Linked DNA regions of Homo sapiens: region 1 is linked to region 2. The links are contacts of gene promoters, found by promoter capture Hi-C in blood cells and fetal thymus (Javierre and others, 2016). All regions are on one chromosome and are shown on one strand. Each heading gives the region's core, a stretch centred on a gene start or on the middle of the fragment in contact. The rest is flanking DNA. Distances are from core to core; before and after follow the strand shown. Region 1 overlaps LOC105377778 (a long non-coding RNA gene). Region 2 holds the start of RNF122 (ring finger protein 122).

What was found. Contacts are between HindIII fragments. The CHiCAGO score rates a contact against its expected background, and 5 or more counts as called.
Region 1: a fragment that was not itself captured here is called in contact with the fragment with the promoter of RNF122 in region 2 in 1 of 17 cell types (M2 macrophages); the score reaches 6.4 in M2 macrophages.

Annotation. Positions count from the first base shown.
Region 1 is chr8:1,745,449-1,751,155 of GRCh38, reverse strand. It overlaps LOC105377778 (a long non-coding RNA gene), which reads left to right. Exons shown (of 4, transcript XR_007060784.1): 3 at 2,752-2,862. Among named protein-coding and RNA genes, the nearest start is that of CLN8, 15 kb to the left of the region's middle. The HindIII fragment of the contact is 3,097 bases long and covers 1,450-4,546 here.
Region 2 is chr8:33,563,746-33,569,591 of GRCh38, reverse strand. RNF122 (ring finger protein 122) reads left to right here and starts at 2,464. Exons shown (of 6, transcript NM_024787.3): 1 at 2,464-2,893. The coding sequence starts at 2,869. RefSeq lists silencers at 2,580-2,699, 2,750-2,819, 2,850-2,899, 3,040-3,089. The HindIII fragment of the contact is 8,620 bases long and covers 1,502-5,846 here.

The sequences.
Region 1 (5,707 bases), core at 1,749-4,248, about 32 Mb after region 2:
CAACCAGATTATTTATTTATTTATGTATTTATGTATTTATCTGTTTATGTATTTATTTATTTATTTTTCTTTTGAGACGGAGTTTTGCTCTTGTTGCCCAGGCTGGAGTGCAATGGCATGATCTCAGCTCACCGCAACCCCTGCCTCTGGGGTTCAAGCGATTCTCCTGCCTCAGCCTCCCTAGTAGCTGGGATTACAGGCATGCACCACCATGCCTGGCTAATTTTGTATTTTTAGCAGAGATAGGGTTTCTCCATGTTAGTCAGGCTGGTCTTGAACTTCCGACCTCAGGTGGTCCGCCCTCCTCGGCCTCCCAAAGTCCTGGGATTACAGGCGTGAGCCACCGCGCCTGGCCAGCATTTTTATTAACATTAGAATTTTTTACTGAATTATCTTGCTTGATACATCTTTGACTATCATTAAAATGTGTGTGGTCAGCCTGAGGGGACCTGGCTCCGGGCATGATGCTGTGAGTCGAGGTATTCCCTGTGAAGCTTTCTGGCCAATCAAGGCTGAAATTCCATGTGGCAGAAAATCCAGGCCACAGAGGAACCAGTTAAACGAAGCCATAGGGAACCGGACAAATCTAGAATGTGGACAATTGGCCAGGTCTCCATAACAGATCAGTGTGCTGGGAGCGGGTTGGGGAGTGTGTGTGTGTCAGGGAGTTGAGTCTAGATTAAAACAGCCAAAGACATGTGACAACTGCACTCACCATGTGAGCCGTGATTGGGGGCTTTTCCAACAGGCAGTGGTCAGACGCATCCTCAGGGACAACTGGGGACATTTCAATATGGACTGAGCATTCGGTAGTCTTAGTGACTTATTGCTGACTTTCTTTTTTTTTGAAATGACGTTTCCCTCTTATTGCCCAGGCTGGAGTGCAGTGGCGTGATCTCGGCTCACCGCAACCTCTGCCTCCCGGGTTCAAGCGATTGTACTGCCTCAGCCTCCCAAGTAGCTGGGATTACAGGCACGCGCCACCAAGCCTGGCTAATTTTGTATTTTTGTTTCTTTTAGTAGAGATGGGGTGTCTCCATGTTGGTCAGGGTGGTCTCGAACTCCTGACCTCAGGTGATCCGCCCACCTCCGCCTCCCAAAGTGCTGGGATTACAGGTGTGAGCTACCGTGCCCAGCCAAAAGTTTATGTTTTTAAGAGAAATGTGCTGAAGCACTGGGCTCGAGTGACAGTATGGTGGTTTATTCTGAAAGGGCTCAGCTGTGTGTGCAAGAGTGTATGTGAGTGTGTGTGTATGTCAGCATATGTGTGTGAGTATGTATGTGTCTGTGTGAACGTGTACGTGTGTGTATGTGTATGTGTGTGAGGATGGTGTGTATGTGTATGTGCTGAAGTAAATATGACTGAACAATAAGAATCGTCGATCTGGTTGTTTGGTACATGAGTATTCATCTTATTTCTTTTTCACTTTTTCTGTGCATTTGAAAGCTTTCATAGGAAGTCAGAAAATGTATCTGGTTGTTAAAACAATATTGTAACGTACACACACAGTCCATTTCCAGTCCCAGAATTGAGACAGTTAGTGCAGAGGCCACTGGCTCAGCTGTGGAAACCAGACTGCACGGTCCATCTGCACCCATGCTGTCTGTGAGCCCTGGGAATGTCGCTTCCTGTCTCTGGGCCTCAGTTTCCTTCTCTATAAAATGGGCTGATGCTGTTCCTGCCACAGAGGCTGGTGGGATTCAGGCCACATACCCCGGCACATCAGCGTTCCGTTGTTACACATTTGAATACTCCCAAGCCAGTTGGTAAACAGTTGACTCTCCGGGACCCCTTGCACGTTTCCACGACTCAGCAATCAACGTGGAGCTGAACTGGCTGTGAAGCGTTTTGAGCACTGCCCGTGTTTGTCTCACAGCCCTCACGGGAATCCCGGTTAATATACTCAATGAGCGGAGCCCTGAAAACCCCGCCTGCCACCTCGTAAGTGTTCTATAAGCGTTTGCCATTTTAGTAAGTCCTTGTATTTTTATCCAATCTTTGTTTTATGTTACAAAGATAGATGGAAGGTTAACGTTGAAGTAATTAACTTCTTAATGGAAGTGTAGAATTACAAAGTAATTGAAAAGAAGAATAGATGAGATCTGTGAGAGTTTCTTGTCTTTCTGCCTCATGCTAAAATGTAAGCTCTTGTTGTAAACGAAAGCCTGCGTGCAAATGGTTTGCAGGCTGATTAGCGAATCTGGGGCACGGAGCTATCCAGGAGCTCTCACTGTAGATTTAACATCCACGCATTTTATGTAGCTTCTTGATGCTGATGTTGGTAAGAGACGCTAAATTGTCATGGGCATTATGTGGAAAACCCGTAGATGATTTCTGGAGCACAAAAGCCTGACCTGGAATTGGGGCAGAGCTGGGGAAGGTAGGGGGAATGATTCATTTTTGCAGCAAGGGGGATGTGGGGGGCTCAGGCCAGGGCAGGGTGGGGCTGCTGGAAACAAGATAAAGAGAAGGACATAGATATAATGGCAAGGACTCCTTAGCTGTGGGCTAATCGGTGAGCTCAATTATGTCGGGCAAGTTTAAAGAATTTAAACATTAAACCATATGTTCCATACATAAAATAATTTTTGAGGGCCAGGGAACTTCCAGCCAGACACCGACCTCGGGTTGTTCATCACCATAGTGGCTGGTGGGGTACCATTCACGTGGGAGGTCGGAGGAGTGAGCAAGCGGGTTAGGCTGTGTCAGCCTTCCTGACAGGTGCTCAAGGACATCCGCTGTGTGCCTAGGTGCAGCTGTGTCACTGGGATGGACACAGGAAGCAATGTGGGGTCTTTGCTGCCAGTGAGCTCCCGGTCTAGGAGAAGAGAGAGGAAGCATCTTTATCTGTGTTATCCCAGGTACGCGTGCCAATTATATGTCTGTATCCTTATCTGTGTCTACATATACACCTACATCTACATCTACAGTCATATCAATATCTATACCCATACCCATATCTCTATATTTCTACATCTATACCCATATCACAGCTGTGTCTATATCTGTTAAGTCATTCTTGCATTGCTATAAAGAAATACCTGAGACTGGGTCATTTACAAAGAAAAGAGGTGGAATTGGCTAACGGTTCTGCAGGCTGCGCAAACATCGTACCAGCATCTGCTCCGCTTCTGGGGAGGCCTCTGGGAGCTTTTGCTCATGGCGGAAGGTGAAGCAGGAGCAGGTGTGTCACATGGACAGAGCTGAAGTCAGAGAGAGAGAGAGTGGGTTGGGGGAGCTGCCACACACTTAAACACCCAGACCTCCTGAGAACTCACTCACCATTGTGAGGACAGCACAAAGCCACGAGGGATCTTCACCCACGAACTAAACCCCTCCCGCCAGACCCCATCTCCAACACTGGAGATTACAACTCAACATGAGACTTGGGTGGGGACAAATATCTAAACTATATTACTATATCTATATCTATATACATCTATGTCCATAGCTACATCTATGTCCACATCTGTATCTGTAATCTGTGTGTTCAGATAGATACACATGTCTTTTTACAAAGAAAATAAAGCCAGGTTGCAGTGGCTCACACTGGTAATCCCAGCACTTTGGGAGGCTGAGGCAGGTGGATCACCTGAGGTCAGGAGTTCGAGTCCAGCCTGGCCAACATGGTGAAACCCTGTCTCTATTAAAAATACAAAAAAAAAAATAGCTGGGCATGGTGGCGGGTGCCTGTACTCCCAGCTACTCAGGAGGCTGAGGCAGGAGAATCGCTTGAACCCAGCAGGCAGAGGCTGCAGTGAGCTGAGATCATGCCACTCCACTCCAGCCTGGGCGACAGAGTGAGACTCCCTCTCAAAAATAAATAAATGAAAAGAAAATAAGCTCAGAGAAATCAGGTGGTGCCACCATCAATAAGCATCAGAACTGGAATGCAAACGTGGGCTTTGGTGCCTTCAAAGTCAGAACTGTGTTCACCCCTCTCGCTTTAGGGTCTGTATCAGTTTGTTAGGGCTGCCATAACAAAGTGCCACAAACAATAGGACGGTCTTCTCTCCCAAGCCAGAAGTCGGAGATCCCGGTGTCCGCAGGGTTGAGCTCCCCTGAAGGCTCCAGGGGAGGGTCTGTCCCAGCTGGGCCTGGATCTGGCCTCCGGTGGCCCCTCGGCTGGGTGGCCCCTGGGCTGAGTGGCTCCTCGGCTCGGTGGTGGAGCTCCAGTCCTCACGTGGTGTCCTTCCTCTGTGTGTGTCTCTCTGTGTCCCAGTTTCCCCTTTTTATAAGAACACTGACTGTATTCAATTAGGATCCTCCCTCATGACCTTATCTGAATTTGATTTAATTTCATTCCCTCTTTGGAAATAGACAAGACCCTATTTCCAAATAAAGTCACATTTCCAGGTATGGGGGGTGGTTAGGTCTCCAACATACCTTTTTTTTTTGAATGGGGTATAATTCAACTCATAACGGTGTCTTTCACCAAAACCCAGTGATCCTACTTAATCCACATCCCATCTCTTAATGCCTAGTCCCATCGACTTGTCACTAGATGATGCTGAGAACAAAGGTTTTGTATCTGGGATAAAAGCTTTTTCATCATCATAGAAATTTGGCAAACTTCAGAAGCACCATTACTGTGTTTCAATTTTGTCAAGCCTTTTAACAGCTGTACCATATCCTTGGACTACTTCTATTTTGTAGATAAACGCACGGATACTTGTTTATGTGTACACGTGGTGCTCACACCGAATGTTAGAAGTATGCAATGTGCTTTCTTACACGTGTGGTCATTTATGGCAAACAGCTCTGGGAGGAAAGCAAGGCAGGAAGCAGCTTGTGCATCTGCAGAGGGCACGATGGTGTCTGCTGGGCTGGGTGACTCACCAGTCACAAGCTGGGGTGGGTGGGGCCAGAGAGCCACAGTGCAGAGCTGCTGGACCTCAGGCCCTCACAGCTGAATCAGGGTTCACTTTTTAGGGCTTATTGTTGGGCACAGTCCAGAGACAGCCAGAAATCCCCACATATTAAAGCAGAAAGCACCTTCTAGCCGAGCCACGTTGGACGTGGGACCCATCACTTGTCTTATTTCCACATCTTATAACTTGGAGGAACACAGTTATTGCAATCTTTGCACTGTCTGCCTTTCCTCCATATGTGCTCTGTAGTGTTATTTTCTTGACATTTCTCTTCCTTTGGGGTGGAAAAAGAGGAAAAAGGTCACGGTGGGTGGAAACAAAATGAGAAGAGAAAGTGCATGGGCAGAATTTCAGTGAGGATGTTGTCACTTCAGAAACCCACACCTCCAACTTGTGGTCTGACGAGGTGATCAAACTCAGGACACAAGACGGCGCTCCTCGCCCCACCGCAGCTAACGTCAGTCACGTTACAGGGCAGGTAGGATGGAAAGCGCGTGGCCTATGCTGCGGTCCAGCTTAGATTCTAGCAGCGCGGCTTTCATATCCTGCTCAGGCAAGCCTTGGTCACTCACTGGGCCTCTGATTCTGTGACAAATCCATTGGGCAGACACCCCGAGAGAGCAAGAGGTGACTGAGTCATGGCCTGGCTGTGAGGGACAGCCCACAGTCTGGAGATAGCAAGCCGCCAATGCTGCAGTCACCCTTATAAAACATTTGGAATTACGGAAGCTGAGCAGAGCAGGTTTTGCTTGTTTACTTTGTTTCTGGTTTGCAGAGAGCATTAGGTTGGAGGAAGTTTTTTTTTCTTGTTCTTACATCACAAAATGTAAACTAT
Region 2 (5,846 bases), core at 1,215-3,714:
CCACTGCACTCCAGCCTGGGCGACACAGAGCAAGACTCCGTTTCAAAAAAAGAAGAATTTCCATCATTCCTACCTTTAAGGGTGTTTTCCTTCCAAGAACCTCTAGTCCAAAGGCGAGTGGGACGGGAGGTGTTCCTCACTTCCCATCAATTTTCCCTTCAAAGGCTCTCCTTCTTTCACAGTCTGGCGCTGGAGGCAGTTAGCAGGAGAGCCTTAATAAAATTAGGATTACCCATCACATCTCTCCCCCGAGCCAATGAATAGAAAGAACAATAGTTACCATTATGCACACTTTTTTTTTTAAAGACTTTATTTTTCAGCGTAGTTTTAGGTTCACAGCAAAATTGAGAAGAAGGTACAGAGTTCTGATACACCCCCAGCCCCACACATGTATAGCCTCCCCCATTAATCCTAGCACTTGGGAGGCTGAAGCAGGCAGATAGCCTGAGCTCATGAGTTTGTGACCAGCCTGGGCAACGTGGCTAAACCCAGTCTCTACAAAAAAAAAAAAAAAAAAAAAATTAGCCGGGCATAGTGGTGAGTGCCTGTAGTGCCAGCTACTCAGGAGGCTGAGGTGGGAGGATGGCTTGAACCCAGGAGGTGGAGGTTGTAGTGAGCCAAGATCATGCAACTGCATTCAAACCTGGGCAACAGAACCAGACCTTGTCTCTAAATAAATAAAAACAACAACAAAAAAGAATATACACAGCCTATGTTCAAGGAAGAGTAACAACAAAAAGCTTCATGGCTGATGAATAGTGTGTGGTGAAGGGGAGTATTTGAGTATGAGGAAGACTGAAACAAATAAGGCTAGACTGAAACACTTTATTTTAATAGTTTTTTCTTTTTTCTTTTTGAAACAGAGTAGTCTCATTCTGTCGCCCAGGCTGGAGTGCAGTGGCACAATCACAGCTCACTGCAGCTGCATCCTCGACTTCTCGAACTCCAGTGATTCTCCCACCTCAGCCACCAGAGTAGCTGGGACCGCAGGTGCGCACCACCAGGCCCAGCTAATTTTTGTATTTTTTTTACAGGTGGCTTCACCATGTTGCCCAGGATGGTCTCAAACTCTTGAGCTCAAGCAATCTGCCCGCCTCAGCCTCCCGAAGTTTTGAGATTATAGGAGTGAGTCTAGACTGAAACATTTTGAATGCCACACTCTAGTTTACAGAACTTTATTCAGTAAACACTGGAGACCAACAAACGTTATCAAGCAAAGAAATGTTCAGATTTACATTTTACAGAGATAATTGTGACCAGAAGGGATGGACTTGAGAGTGAAATCAGAGCACTGTTTCTTTCAATAGCCGCATGAGAATTTGAGGGGTGGGGAAGACAAGGCACATTAAAATGAAAATTTCTGGGTCCACCCTTTATTGAATCAGAATCTCTGGGTTCAAGGCCTGGGAATCTGCATGTTACATCTCAAACATAGGAGTGATTCTTGTAGGCTCTGAAGTCTGAGCTATAGACTAGAATCAGAATGGCCAGTTAGGAAGCTTTTGCAATTATCCAATTAAGAAATGAAATGTCCTGGGTGCCATGGCTCATGCCTGTAATCCCAGCAATCTGGGAGGCTCAGGCGGGAGGATCACTTGAGTCCAGGAGTTCGAGACCAGCCTGAGCAACATAGTGAGGCCACTCATCTATACAAAACAATTAAAAAGTAGCTGGGCTTGGTGGCAGGCACCTGTGGTCCCAGTTTCTTGGGAGGCTAAGGTGGCAGGACTGCTTGGGCCCAGAAGTTGGAGGCTGCAGTAAGCTATTATTGCACCGCTGCACTCCAGCTGAGTGACAGAGCAAGACTCTAACTCAAAAAAGAAAAAGAGGGCCGGGAGCGGTGGCTCACGCCTATAATCCCAGCACTTTGGAAGGCTGAAGCAGGAGGATCACTTGAGGCCAGGAGTTCGAGAACAGCCTGTCCAACATGGCGAAACCCCGTCGCTATTAAAAATACAAAAATTATCTGGGCATGGTGGTAAGCGCCTGTAATCCCAGCTACTCAGGAGGCTGAGGCAGGAGAATCACCTGAACCCGAGAGGCAGAGGTTGCAGTGAGCTGAGATCGCGCCGCTGCACTCCAGCCTTGGCGATAGAGGCAGACTCTGCCTCCAAATACATAAGTAAATAAATAACAGATCTGTAGGCGGAAAACAATGTGGCAGTAATTGTTCCTTTGCCTTGGTGTCCCTGGGCAAAAGGCAGGCCCCCACTCCGGGGCATCGCTCGTCGCCGCTCCATTCTCTGCAGACCGAAGTTTCCCCAGGCCTGGGAAGACTAAGTGGGAGGCGCCCACCGTGCGAAGATCCTCCCGGCTTCCAGGGAAGGGAGGCTGGGCCTGCAAATAATAGCCGGGGGCAGGAGAAAGGCTCCGATTGGTCGGAGGGAGGGTGACGAACAAGGGGCGGAGTTTTCCTGGGGACTGGTGGGGGAAGTAAAAGGGAGGGGGTGTGCACCGCCGGGTGTCAGTTTCGGAACCCCAGCCAGCTCACCTCTGCGCCGCTGAACCCGATCCGAGCCTCCGGCAAAGGTTTTTCCCTCCTCCCCCGGCCGAGGGCTTCTGCAGCCCGGGCACCCCCGCCCCGCGGCGCCCCACATTCCCCCAGCCCGGGGCCCTTGGCGCGTGCGCTCCGTGCGGCTGTGCTCCGCGGGACTTTGTTTGTTTCCTCCTCGTCCCTCTTTGTTGGGCTGAACACCAGCCTCGTCAAAGCCCCCCACTCCGGAGGGAGTTCGGCTTCTCCAGCAGGGCGGCTGCAGCGCGCTGCCCCGACCCCGCCTGCGGCCCCTCACGCCGCTAGTGCTCCCACCCCGCCCTCCTGGCACCCCGCCTGCGTCCGTTCGCCCGAGGAAGCCAACCGCGACTTCATTGATGCACCCATTCCAGTGGTGTAACGGTGAGTCCCCGGGGCGAGGGCCGAGCCTACGTGGGGCTGGTGGGAGCCGCGGCGCGGGGTGCGAGGTCGGACAGCAGCGCGCTGGTCCTCCCTCGGGAACCAAGTTTCTCCTGAAATGGGACAGTCGAGAAGGCGTCTTGGCGCCCCACTCTGCTCTGCACAGCGCGGAATTTGAAACTATCCAGGTTTCACTCCAGAGCCTGGAAGGGGCCTCCGGACTGGCGGCGGGCCGGGGGCGTGGGAGCCGAGGGGTTCCCGGCCTTTGTGTGGCGGCCCGGCTCTTCTACCCCCTTCCCCTGCCTTTGTGCGCTCAAACTCTGTTCTTTGTTGTGGTTGTTGGAGGAGAATTAAATCCGCACTCGGGCTGGGATCTCCTAGAGGGAGCTCAAGTTCCCGGCCTGAAACTTTGCAGGCTATTGTAAATATGTATACCGTGCAGCGTGCGGGACTGGGCGCGGGGGTAGCTTCCTCTGGCTTTGTTGGTTTCCCACGGGCTGCTGGCGTGGCTTGGGTGCTTGCGGAAGACTGGATTAAAGAGTCGCTTTCGGCCAGGCGCGGTGGCTCACGCCTGTAATCCCAGCACTTTGGGAGGCCGAGGCGGGCGGATCACCTGAAGTCGGGAGTTCGAGACCAGCCTAACCAACATGGAGAAACTCCGTCTCTACTAAAAATACAAAATTAGCCGGGAGTGGTGGCGCATGCCTGTAAGCCCAGCTACTTGGGAGGCTGAGGCAGGAGAATCGCTTGAACCCAGGAGGCGGAGATTGCAGTGAGCCTAGATCGTGCCATTACACTCCAGCCTGGGCAACAAGAGCGAAACTCCATCTAAAAAAAAGCCGTTTTCCTGAGTTGATAAACCCTCGCAGAGAGCTCCGCGCCCGGCTGTCCCTGGGGTGCGAGGCTGGCCTGGCGGGAGCCGTGTTTCTGGCCACAAGGCCAGATTAGGGTGTCTGCTCCTGAGCCCAAGTGAAGGCCACACCTCCAGACGCGACAACCCCTCGCCCCATTTCTCCCCAGGCCTGGGTGATGCTTCTAAGTTAGTTCATTTCACCTGAGGCTTTTTGGAGGTTCAGGTGATACTGGGTTAGGCTGGAGTCTGATTCCTCAGCGAGCTACCTGAAAGGTAGGTGTTTCTGAGCGGGACACTTCAAAACCTTGGATACTAATCGCCCCCCACCCCACCCGCTCCAGTCCTCCTGGGGTCCTAGTCTTGACCGCGTTGTTCCGATGCTTGGAGAGTTTCTGGGAGAGAGAGATGGGAAGCAGCTGGCCTTATCTCTCAGTATGGCAAGCGAGCTAGTTACAGGGGGAAAAAAATCATTCTTTAGAGTAGACTCCTGCCAGATCTTGGATTAATTATGTCAAGAGGCTTTGTTTTGAGGCAGGGTTTGGGTAGCATGTATACCCCACATCCCCCCACCCCGCCTTCCTCCTTTTGCTGGTCGGATCTCATTTCCTGAAAATGAACCAAGCCGTGTGTGATAGGCGGTTTTGTGGGAGAGGGGGCAGAGGATGGGGGTTGAGGAAGGCCCTTGCACCCTAGCATCTGGGAAAGATTCCCGTTGGCTGGGAAAGAGAAGCAGTTCCCAGATCCCCTGGTCTTTCTTGGCCAGCCCTTGTCTGACGTCATTCCTGCTCCCAGCCTGCCAGATGAGATGAGACATTCTGATGTCAGTGCTTTCATAGGTTGGCCGAGACAATGGAACAGAGACTTAGGGAGAAATGAGGCAGCTGTCAGTAACACTGCCCTTTCTGGGCAGCGCCCTTTCATATCAGATTTTAGACTTGCTGCTTTATTTTTTTTATTTTTTATTTTTTATTTTTTTGAGACTGAGTTTCGCTCTTGTTGTCCAGGCTGGAGTGCAATGGTGTGATCTCGGCTCACCACAACCTCCGCCTCCCGGGTTCAAGCGGTTCTCCTGCCTCAGCTTCCCGAGTACCTGGGATTACAGGCATGTGCCACCATGGCCGGCTAATTTTGTATTTTTAGTAGAGAGGGGGTTTCTCCATGTTGTTCAGACTGGTCTTGAACTTTTGACCTCAGGTGATCTGCCCACCTCAGCCTCCCAAAGTGCTGGGATTACAGGCGTGAGCCACTGCGCCCAGCCTACTTTAATTTTTTTTTTGAGAGAGGGTCTCACTCCGACAACCATGCTGGAGTGCAGTGGCACGATCAGGGCTCACTGCGGCCTCCAACTCCCAGGCTGAAGGGATCCTCCTGCCTCAGCCTCCCAGCATAGCTGGAACCACAGGTGTGTGCAACCATACCTGGCTACTGGCTAATTTTTAATTAATTAATTAATTAATCTACTTTTTGGGGATAGGGTTTCACTACATTGCCTATGCTGGTCTTGAACTCCTGGGCTCAAGCAGTCCTCCCACCACGGACTCTCAAAATGCTGGAATTACCTGCAGGAGCCACCTTGTCTGGCCCTCTTTGCACTTCTTAGAAAAGTGACTGAGAGATCCTGTCCTTTGACTCCTGTGAAGAAGCAACCCTTCCCTCACCCCTTCAGAAACTACCTGGAGCCCCTCTTTCCTGGGGCTGGTATTCTCTGTCCTTATACAGTTTTAAAGAAAAACTTACTACAGTGTCAGCTTTTGACCAGTAGACTATTTTGCCATTTCTTTAATAGTAACACAAGCAAATGAACCATCTCCTCTTGACTATGCTCTTCCCACCGACCTCTTTATCACGTGAAATACCAAGCTCACTGATTCAATCAGTGGGAGATAAAGGGGAAGCCTTTATCAGGCAGGATAAGTTGGTGGGGATAAACTGATCAGAGGACTTGCGGGGACCATCGTGCTTGTGGAGTGCACAGATATCCTCTGTAATAGCTCTGACCAGGTTCTGCAAGTTCCCAGAACTGGAAACCAAAGGAGGTTTCAGCTCATAAAAGGTGCCTGGAAGAACTAAGGAAACGGGGGGTTAGACCCTCTTGTAACATCA